Regions from separate parts of the Homo sapiens genome. Here region 1 is linked to region 2. Evidence: promoter capture Hi-C in human tissues and cell types (Jung and others, 2019). All regions are on one chromosome and are shown on one strand. The core of a region is centred on a gene start or on the middle of the fragment in contact, and the rest is flanking DNA. Distances in the headings are between cores, read along the strand shown. Region 1 overlaps OPA3 (outer mitochondrial membrane lipid metabolism regulator OPA3). Region 2 holds the start of CLASRP (CLK4 associating serine/arginine rich protein).

Region 1 (5,189 bases), core at 813-3,312, 530 kb before region 2:
TCACGCCATTCTCCTGCCTCTCAGCCTCCCGAGTAGCTGGGACTACAGGCGCCCGCCACCACGCCCAGCTAATATTTTTTGTATTTTTAGTAGAGACGGGGTTTCACCATGTTAGCCAGGATGGTCTCGATCTCCTGACCTCGTGATCCGCCCGCCTCAGCCTCCCAAAGTGCTGGGATTACAGGCGTGAGCCACTGCGCCCAGCCCCCTTTGTTTTTTTTGAGATGGAGTCTAACTTTGTTGCCCAGGCTTTTGCCTTCCTGAGTAGCTGGGATTACAGGCGCCTGCCACCACGCCCAGCTAATTTTTGTATTTTTAGTAGAGACGGGGTTTCACCATGTTGGTCAGGCTGGTCTCCAACTCCTGACCTCAAGTGATCCGCCCGCTGTGGCCTCCCAAAGTGTTGGGATTACAGGCGTGAGCCACCGCACCCAGCCGGAATCCCTTCTTGTCATTACTGCCCAAGTGCCAAAACCTCTGCTTCTAGATAAAGACTTCGTGCACTCAGATCCTTGCCCTGCTGTTTACGTGGTGTGTGTCCTGCATGAGTCCCTCTGCCTTTCTGTACCGAATAGCACTTAACCTCATAGTTCTGATGTTCCCTCAGCACCATTCAGTAAACAGTGTTTACTGTTTACTGTTTGCAGCGCGGCCTCGAACCAGGCTGCCTGCTTATCTGTCCCCGCTCTGCCACTTTCTGTGTGACCCCAGGGAGAGTTATTTAACCTCTCTGGGCCTCAGTTTTATGCTTGTAATTGGGTTGTTATGTGGATATTAAGATCCATAAAACATAGAACTGTACCTGGCCCTCAAGTACTCTGTACATGTTTATTTACTTATTTATTCATTTTATTTGTTTATTTTTTGAGACAGAGTTTCGCTCTTGTTGCCCAGGCCGGAGTGCAGTGGCGTGATCTCAGCTCACCGCAACCTCCACCTCCTGGGTTCAAGTGATTCTCCTGTCTCAGCCTCCCGAGTAGCTGAGATTACAGGCATGTGCCACCATGCCCAGCTAATTTTTTGTATTTTTAGTGAGACGTGTGAATATAAGATGAGATTTGGGTGGGGACACAGCCACACCGTATCACTTGGCCTGGGGGATGGGGACTATGCTGTGGGGGAATTGGGCAGGCAACAGCCTTGTGTAGAACCAGGTCTCTGGCAAGGTACCTGGTGAACTAGAAAAAAACCTCCGTCTGAAGGCACACAAGCTTTGCCCTAGGTAGAGACTGATACATTCTCCTCTGAGAATTTGTAGCCACTGACTGTCCCTCATGTGGGCTTGGGGCCTCTTTGAAAGGTCCTGGAAGTTGCAGGCTGAGAATGAACCCCTAGGGGTACCTAATTGTATCTAAGCACCTGGCAAGGGCAAACATAAACTCTTCCTGCCTGTGCTCTCTCTGCCCAGGCCTTGGAGAAATCCTTCAGATAGAGTTCCAGCACATACAAGCTCACAGTAAAAAAAAAATATATATAGATAGATATATATCGAGATATATATCTATATATATAGTATGATATATATATCTATATATAGTATGATATATATAGATATATATCGAGATATATATCTATATATATAGTATGATATATAGGTATATATTGAGATATATCATATATATAGTATGATATATATAGATATATATCTCATATAGATATATATGATATATATCGATATATATATTTATATACATATATCATGATATATATGATATATATCAATATATATATTTATATACATATATCATGATATATATCCATATATGATATATATATCATATGATATATATATCTCATATCTCATATATGATATATATCTCATATATCTCGATATATATGATTATTATATGATATATGATATATATCATATATTGATATACATATATCATGATATATATCGATATATATCGATAATCTCATATGTTGATATATATGAGATATATATCGATATATATCTCATATATGTCGATATATATGAGATATATATCGATATATATCTCATATATGTCGATATATATGAGATATATATCGATATATATACTATATATATTTTTATTTTTTATTTATATGAGATATATAATCATATATATCGATATATATGAGAGATATATATATATCTCATATATATATCAGACCAACCTGACCAACATGGAGAAACCCCGTCTCTACTAAAAATACAAAATATATATATATATCAATATATATTGATATATATATATACACCACATGAAAAAAGCAGCCACCATGAGCGAGAGCCAGCAGAAAAACATGGCAGGTCACAGCCTGCAAACGTGGAATTATCAGATGTGGATATAAAATACCTAAGCTTATCTGTTAAGAGGATAAAAGAGAAGGATATTAAAACACAAGTAAAATGAAAAATTGCCAGGAAGCTGGAAAAAGAATTAAACAAAACTTCTAGAAAGGACAGCTACAACAGTTGGTGTTCAGCTCTCAATAGAAGGGCTAACTAACCACCAGGTTAAACACAACTGCCAAGAGGATTGGGGAGCTGAAAGGTGCACAATATGGAGGAAAACTAGTGAGCTTTCTGGGGCACTTCCAGTAGATGCCCAGGAGTGCTACCTGCAGGTCCTGATTTGGTGGACGTAGGGAAGGGGTGGACGTGTTTATTTTTAGCAGTCTCTAGAGTACATTCTCACACGCACCAGTGTTTGAAAATCACTTTGCTGGAGTTTATTTATAATCACCAGAGCGTCACATCAGTTATATTATATGGCAGCCAGGCTGCTGCTGGTGACCTCCAAACATTTATTATTATGTTCTCCTATCAAGGAAACACTTCTGAGGTTCCTTCCCTAGCATATATGTATGCACGTGTGTACACATATGTAAAATTATTTAGCAGTCAGCCAGGCACGGTGGCTCATGCCTGTAATCCCAGCACTTTGCGAGTCCAAGGCGGGTGGATCCCCTGAGGCGGGGAGTTCAAGACCAACCTGAACAACATGGAGAAACCCCGTCTCTACTAAAAAAATACAAAAAATTAGCTGGGCATGGTGGCGCATGCCTGTAATCTCAGCTACTTGGGAGACTGAGGCAAGAGTATCGCTTGAACCCGGGAGGTGGAGGTTGCGGTGTGCCAAGATCGCACCATTGCACTCCAGCCTGGGCGACAGAGCAAGACCCTGTCTCAAAAAAATAAAATAAAATAAGTAAATAAATAAATAAATGAAAGTATTTAGCAGTCATGTATAGCGCTAACATATAATAGTATGGTTATATTATATGCATTTAAAAACATACACAAAAATTAGAGGGATGAAACGAACATAAAAATTTTTAAAATAAACTTATTTATTCATGCCCCCCCCCCCCAAATAGTTTTGCTGTCACCGAAAACATTTTCCTATGCAGACATTATTAAGTAAATTTGGAAACTCTTGGTGAAACCCTCTGTGAGAGTCTGGCTTTGAATTTTTTTTTTTTTTTTTGAGACAGAGTCTCACTCTGTCGCCCAGGCTGGAGAGTAGTGGCACAATCTCGGCTCGCTACAACCTCCACCTCCCAGGTTCAAGTGATTATCCTGCCTCAGCCTCCCGAGCAGCTGGGATTACAGGCTTCTGCCACCACACCCGGCTAATTTTGTTTTGTTTTTGTTTTTTTCCCCAAGATGGAGTCTCACTCTGTCGCCCAGGCTGTAGTGCAGTGGTTCAATCTCAGCTCGCTGCAGCCTCCACCTCCCAGGTTCAAGCAATTCTCCTGCCTCAGCCTCCCAAGTAGCTGGGATTACAGGGGTGTGCCATTATGCCCAGCTAATTTTTTTTTGTATTATTATTGGAGATAGGGTTTCACCATATTGGCCAGGCTGGTCTCGAACTCCTGACCTCAGGTGATCTGCCCACCTCAGTCTCCCAAAGTGCTGGGATTACAGGCATGAGCCACCGCTCCCAGCCAGCTTTGACATTCTTTGTATGTGGCTGTCACAGCTGGCAAAGACCTAACTAAGGCACATAGTCTCAGATGGAAGAAGTGTGTCATTGGCTGCGTTTAATCTCGCTGCTCCTTTTTTAGTCCCACCCTTCATTATGCAGAGGCATTTGCTGGAATTTGCTCATGTACTCATGGCTAAATCTTCTGGCCGATTTCTGAACAGGGATCTTTTTCAGAAGCCCCTGTGTAGAGGGCTGGCTGATTTGCAACCTGAGTGCATCCCAGGGAATCTACTTGCGCTGGCTGCAAGCAATATGCCAAGTGGACAGGAGAGGGCGCCCGTGTCAGCCTGGGGATGGCGCCTGCCTGAGAAAGCACCAGAGGCCATCTCGGTCATTGACCCCGGTGTATCTCTGTATTAGTTTGTGCTCATCTGTAATTAATTGAAAACCCAGCCAGTAAATGTCAATCAAACCTTAAATCAAAAGGGTGTTTTTTGCTGGCTTTTCAGTAAGCCCTGAGGAAGGCCTGTTCTTGGTTGGTTTGGTGGCTCAGTGGTGTCATTGGGAACCTGAGGACTCCATCTCTGCTGTGTTGGTGCTCAGGCAGTCCTCATGGCCTCAGTAGGGCTGCTGCGGCTCCAGGCATTGTGCCTTTATGTTTCATAAGGGAGGAAGTCTATGCGTGTGTGTATGGAGGGGCGGGTGGTCAGGTAAGTGAGGGTAACGCTTCAAGGAGGAAAATCCTTTTCCAGAAGCCCCCAGGAAACTCCCCTCACTGCCAGCTTACCACAACCGGGTCACCTCCCACCCCTTGGTGTATGGGAGGTTGCAGTGGTGAGTATCGGCTTCTAAACTCTAATGGAGGTGGGGAGGATGGAATTACTAAGACAGTAGAGAATAATATAAAGTAGCACTGGTAATCAGACGCACTGAAGTTGTTCTGAAATCTTTTTTGTTTATTTTGAGACAGAGTCTTGCTCTGTCGCCCAGGCTGGAGTGCAGTGGCGCGATCTCGGCTCACTACAACCTCTGCCTCCTGGGTTCAAGTGATTCTTCTGCTTCAGCCTCCTGAATAGCTGTGACTACAGGTGCCCGCCACCACGCCCAGCTAATTTTTGTATTTTTAGTAGAGACGGTGTTTCACTATGTTGGCCAGGGAGGTCTTGAACTCCTGACCTCAAGTAATCTGTCTGCCTTGGCCTTCCAAAGTGCTGGGATTACAGGCGTGAGCCACAGCGCTCGGCCCTAGCCTCTCTGTTAATTGCGTCCTCTGAGCCTTAGAAACCCCTGAGT
Region 2 (5,434 bases), core at 2,050-4,549:
GTCCTGGCTCCTCCAGTCTGTCCTCCCTAGAAGAGTCCAGGAGGCCTTTCTAAAGCACAAAACTGACCCTGTCCCTTCATTGCTCAGAGCACCTCTATGGCTCCTAAGTGCCCTTGAGAGAAAGCCCAGGCTCCTCACCACCTCCAGCTAATTTCTGTATTTTTAGTAGAGACGAGGTTTCATCATGTTAGCCAGGCTGGTCTCAAACTCTTGACCTGAGGTGATCCACCTGCCTTGGCCCCCAAAATGCTGGGATTACAGGCGTGAGCCACCACACCAGGCCCATGTATGTGTATCTTAAGTGTGTTAAATTCCACAAAGGGGAAGGAAAGGGAGCTATGATTATGGCATTTTTAGAGGACACCTGACTGAGCTTGGGAAACAAGACTTCTCTGAGGACTGAGATCTGACAGATAAGCAGTAGTTAACCAGGTATGGGAAGAGCTCATACAAAGGTCCTGTGGCTGGGGAGCGCTTGGGTCAGTGGAGGAATAGCAAGGAGGCCAAAATGACTTGTGCAAAGGAACAAGGCAGAGTGTGGGGTGGTGTGAGTCTGGAGGAAGGGCAAAGGCCAGGCCATGCAGGACCCTAAAGGCCACAGTGAGGAGCCTGGGCTTTCTCTCAAGGGCACTTAGGAGGCATAGAGGTGCTCTGAGCAACGAAGGGACAGGGTCAGTTTTGTGCTTTAGAAAGGCCTCTTGGACTCTTCTAGGAAGGACAGACTGGAGGAGCCAGGACTGGAGGCCAGCAGACCAGGGAGGAGGCTGGGGCAGTAATACAGGAATAACTGGGAAAGGTCTATATAAATGTCATCTGACAGGAACACTGAACCTAGAAAACAGGTGCCATTTCAAGCTGGGATCCCAAGGATACACAGGAGTTAAATAGGTGAGGGGGGGTAATATAGGCCAAAGCCCTGTGGTGGCAGAAATAGAAGGCCAGTGGAGCTGTCCGAGTATGAAGCTGAGTGGTCAGACCACAAGGGTCTTTTAGGCCAGGGATAGTTTGGTCTTCCCCGCAAAAACAACTGAAGCATCAGACAGGAGAGGGAAGTGGTCAGGTTTCACTTAATATTCACTCCTTTTTTTTTGAGACAGTCTTTTTTTTTTTTTTTTTGAGACAGAGTCTCGCTGTCGCCCAGGCTGGAGTGCAATGGTGCTATCTCAGCTCACTGCAGGCTCCGCTCTGCCCCCCTCCCCGGTTCACACCATTCTCCTGCCTCAGCCTCCCGAGTAGCTGGGACTACAGGCACCCGCCACCTCACCTGGCTAATTTTTTGTATTTTAATAGAGATGGGGTTTCACCGTGTTAGCCAGGACGGTCTCGATCTCTTGACCTTGTGATCTGTCCACCTCGGCCTCCCAAAGTGCTGGGATTACAGGCGTTGAGTCTTGCTCTGTCACCCAGGCTGGAGTTCAGTGGCACAATCTCCATGCACTACAGCCTCCTCCTCCCGGGCTCAAGCAATTCTCGTGCGTCAGCCTCCCAAGTAGCTGGGACTACATGCACACACCACTAAGCCTGGCTAATTTTTGTATCTTTAGTAGAGATGGGGTTTCACCCTTTTGGCCAGGCTGGTCTCGAACTCGTGACCTCAGGTGATCCACTTGGGATTACAGGCGTGAGCCACTGTGCCAGGCCAACTTAATACTCACTCCTATTGTGTGCCAAGCCAAATCTCAAGAGTGGCTGAGCTCTTCTGGGAATGGGGAACACAGCAATAAGCGAAACAGACATTCTGGAGGTGGCCAGTCTAACGTCAGGACTGCTCTGAGGGTTACAGAGACTTCCCTTTTTCTTGCTAACACCGGATCGGCACTGGGAGGCCACACCAAACGACACAGTATGCTACAACAAACAGAAGCCCTTGGGATCCCACCAATGATTATCCTCAAGAAAAGATTAATGAATATACTCCTGAGGAAATGAGCCTCTTGTCTTGACATACTTCCAAGCCCAGATTTTACCAGGATGACCAGCTGTGCCCCCCAACCCAGGGTCCCTCACCCCAGACAAAAGGCCAGTTACTCACGATCTTTTCATAATACTCCCGTCTCCGCTCCGCCCTCTTCTTGTAGTCGACCATCATGCCTCGAAGCTTCCGCTCATGCTTCCGAGCCTCGTGCCACATTGTGGTGAGGCCAAGCCTGGGGCCTCAACCTGAGGGATGAAGGGACCAGGAAAGTCAGATGGTCTGTGAAACCCGTATGGGCAGAATCAAAGTCATCTAACAAGTTGGTGGCAGAGTCGATCCCAAACAACACATCTCTTAGCTTCAGGGAGCAGAAGTGAAGCTGCAGAACAGTATGCCAGATGTTCAAGTCCATCCCTAACAACTTCGATCTAGAAGCTTGGGCATTCTGAAAAACCCTCAGGTGATTCTGAGGTGAGCATCACTGGGAAAGGGGTGTCCTAGATTCCACGCGCTGGAGTCGGGAATGAAAGGTTTTGAAACATCAGCAGTGTTTGAAGTAGGGTCAGAAGGCAAACCCTGAGCACTTAAGGCTGGAGCTCAAGAGAAAGAGAAGAACTGAAAAGGCTCCCACTAGGGGCCATGCGTGGGGTTGGGTATGAGTCTGGGTGGTAGAGGGATAAGGAGAATAAGGATGAAGGCAGGTGGAGGAAATCGGAGAAAGCTTTTAAGGGAACAGTGCAGTTGTATGAAGGTGGAGGTCGAGGACAGGTGAAGGGCGTGGCGGAAGATGAAGATGCTAGAGGGAGTGGGAACACGGGGAGGGAGTGTTGCAAGGAGACCAGAGTGAAGCTGAGGTCTAAAGATGGGATCTAGATGGCGGGGTGGGGAGAGCATCCAAAGAAAAAGAGCGTAGAGCCTGAGAGAGGCGGAGCTGGCTGACAGGAGGGCGTGGGCTGAGCTTGGGGGCAGGGCTTGCGGGAAAGGGCGGAGACCGAAGGTTTGGACGGGGCTTGTGGATCGCGTCGCGGCCTGAGGATTTGGGCTGGGTTTTTTTTTTGTTGTTTTTTTTTTTGACAAGGGGGCGGGGCCTGTGATAAGCTGCTGGGCCGAAGGCCGAGTTCGACGCGGCAACTTCTGGCCCACAGCCGGGGCACGGGCTCGGCCTGAGGCCCGTCAGGCCTAATGGGGTGAGGGACGAGCGATCCTCGGGGCCGGGACGCAGCAGAAGCCCACAGCAGCATGGGGAGAGCCTGAGGAAAGGGAGAAGCTGGGCTGAGGCCTGCCCGAAAACCGGGAGGTCGAGCCGCAGCCTGCACTCACCGGCTGGTCGCCGCCTCCCACCGCTGCGCTCGCGCGCGGCCCGCACCGGAAGCGGAAATGAAAGGCCGCGCTAGGGGGAGGGGGCGGAGCATGGTGGAGGGCCGCGCAGCGCACTTCCGCCGACGAGAGAGGCGGGTCCTAGAGTCGAGAGGGGCGGGATCCCGAGGAAGAAGTGGGAGAGCGGAGAAGGGAAGAGCTTGGATGCTTTATCTTTTTATCTTTTTTATTTTATTTATTTATTTAATTTTATTTTTTTGAGACGGAGTCTCTCTTTGTCTCCCAGGCTAGAAGGCAGTGGCGCGATCTAGGCTCACTGCAACCTTTGCCTCCTGGGTTTCAGCTATTCTCCCACCTCAGCCTCCCGAGTAGCTGGGACTACAAGCGCGCGCCACCAAGCCCGGCTAATTTTTGTATTTTTAGTAGAGATGGGGTTTCACCATTTTGGTTAGGCTGGTCTCAAACTCCTGACCTCAGGTGATCCACCTGCCTCGGCCTCCCAAAGTGCTGGGATTACAGCCATGAGCCACCATGCCCGGTCTCATTTTTTATTTTCATTTTCATTTTTTATTTTTTTGAGACACAGCCTCGCGCTGTCGCCCAAGCTGGAGTGCAGTGGTGCGGTCTTGGCTCACTGCAACGTCCACCTCCTGGGCTCAAGCGATCCTCCCACCTCAGCCTCTAGAGTAGCTGGGATTACAGGCGCGCAGCACCACGCCCGGCTAATTTTTGTATTTTTTGTAGAGACTAGGTTTCGTCATGTTGCCCAGGCTGGTCTCAAACTCGTGAGCTCAAGCGATCCTCCTGCTTTGGCCTCCCAAAGTGCTGGGATGACAGGCCTGAGCCCCCAGCCTGGAGGCTTTCTTTGCTACTAAGGGACTAGGGCGTTTCCCAAGCCCAGAACAGACGAAACCCCGGAGGCTCAAAAACTCATCTTTATTGGGAAGACTCTGAACAACCAACCTACCCCCCACCTTCAAGTCTGGGGAGGGAGGGCCAGGAATCTGCCCCCTCCTCCCATATGTACAATCTTTTCCGAATCCTACTGGAGAAGGTGCCCCCACATGTGGGGACAGAGGCAGCTGTAACAAGCTAGTGCACGGGAGCCATGTCCCTTTTCCTCTCCGGACTCAGTTTCCTCATCTGTAAAATGGGCTCAAGGGGAAACCCGTGCAACGGAGCTTCTCGCCAAGGCTGAATATGTCCACTTCAGAAGCATGAGGAAGGGCCAAGGGGATGGGGGTGCTAGACATCCTGGTTGGGATTGCACGGCTCCTCCACCTCCCTCCCCACCCAGTGCCCCTCCTCTGGCATCGCGGGGCTACGTGGCTTCAGGCCCCGGGGATAGGAGGCCGCCCCCAAAGGCCGCCTCGCGGTAATGATTGGGGAACATGTTGCTGCCCACAAGGCTGGCGGTGCCTCCATCCCCGGGGCCCGGGGCCTGGTACGAGTCCAGTGTCAGTGGTTCAGGGCCGGGGGTCTCCCCAACCACGGCCCCGGCACCTCCGCTGCACACAACAGCGCTAGCGTGTGGCGGTGCCGGGGGCAGCAGGTCCAGCATGGTGAAGAGTGTGGGGGCCGTAGGGTCGTAGGCAAAGCCATCGTCCAGGAGGTCAGGCCCGCCAGGGGGCTCCAGGCCGGGCAGGGACACGGTGCCAGAGAAGAAGTCAGGGTCTGGCAGCAGGGCTGACGGCGGGAGGAACGGGCCTACGGGGATGAAGACAAGAGAAGTGTAGTGTGATTTAGGGCTAACTTCTGATCAGGCCCTAAATCAAATGCCCTACTCCCTGCAAAATGTGATATCAAGGTGGCCTTTTTTTTTTTTTTTCTGAGATGGAGTCTCATTCTGTCACCCTGGCTGGAGTGCAATGACGTGCTCTTGGCTCACTGCAACCTCTGCCTCCCCAGTTCAAGTTGATTCCCCTGCCTCAGTCTCCTGAGTAGCTGGAACTACAGGCCAGGCATGTGCCATGCCCAGCTAATTCTTATCTTTTTAGTAGAGACGGGGTTTCACCATGTTTGCCAGGCTGGTCTCGAACTCCTGACCTCAGGTGATCCACCTGCTTCGGCCTCCCAAAGTGCTGGGATTACAGGTGTGAGCCACCAAGCCTGGCCTTAGGTGCCCTCTTAATCCCAAGGAGAATCCGTGTGGGACTATCACCATTCTCAGATAATAAGTAAATTGAAGGCCAAGCGTGGTGG

What was found. The method cuts DNA at HindIII sites, captures the fragments that hold promoters and counts their contacts. A contact is called where the count stands out against the background at its distance.
Region 1: a fragment that was not itself captured here is called in contact with the fragment with the promoter of CLASRP in region 2 in 1 of the 25 tissues and cell types used here (spleen).

The regions. Positions count from the first base shown.
Region 1 is chr19:45,569,129-45,574,317 of GRCh38, reverse strand. All of the region lies in intron 1 of OPA3 (outer mitochondrial membrane lipid metabolism regulator OPA3), which reads left to right. Among named protein-coding and RNA genes, the nearest start is that of OPA3, 13 kb to the left of the region's middle. The HindIII fragment of the contact is 4,011 bases long and covers 57-4,067 here.
Region 2 is chr19:45,036,910-45,042,343 of GRCh38, reverse strand. It overlaps CLASRP (CLK4 associating serine/arginine rich protein), which reads right to left and starts at 3,299. Exons shown (of 21, transcript NM_007056.3): 1 at 3,236-3,299; 2 at 2,033-2,160. The coding sequence starts at 2,131. RELB (RELB proto-oncogene, NF-kB subunit) reads right to left here. Exons shown (of 12, transcript NM_006509.4): 12 at 4,152-4,939. The coding sequence ends at 4,554. RefSeq lists an enhancer at 2,756-3,625. The HindIII fragment of the contact is 17,106 bases long and covers 1-5,434 here.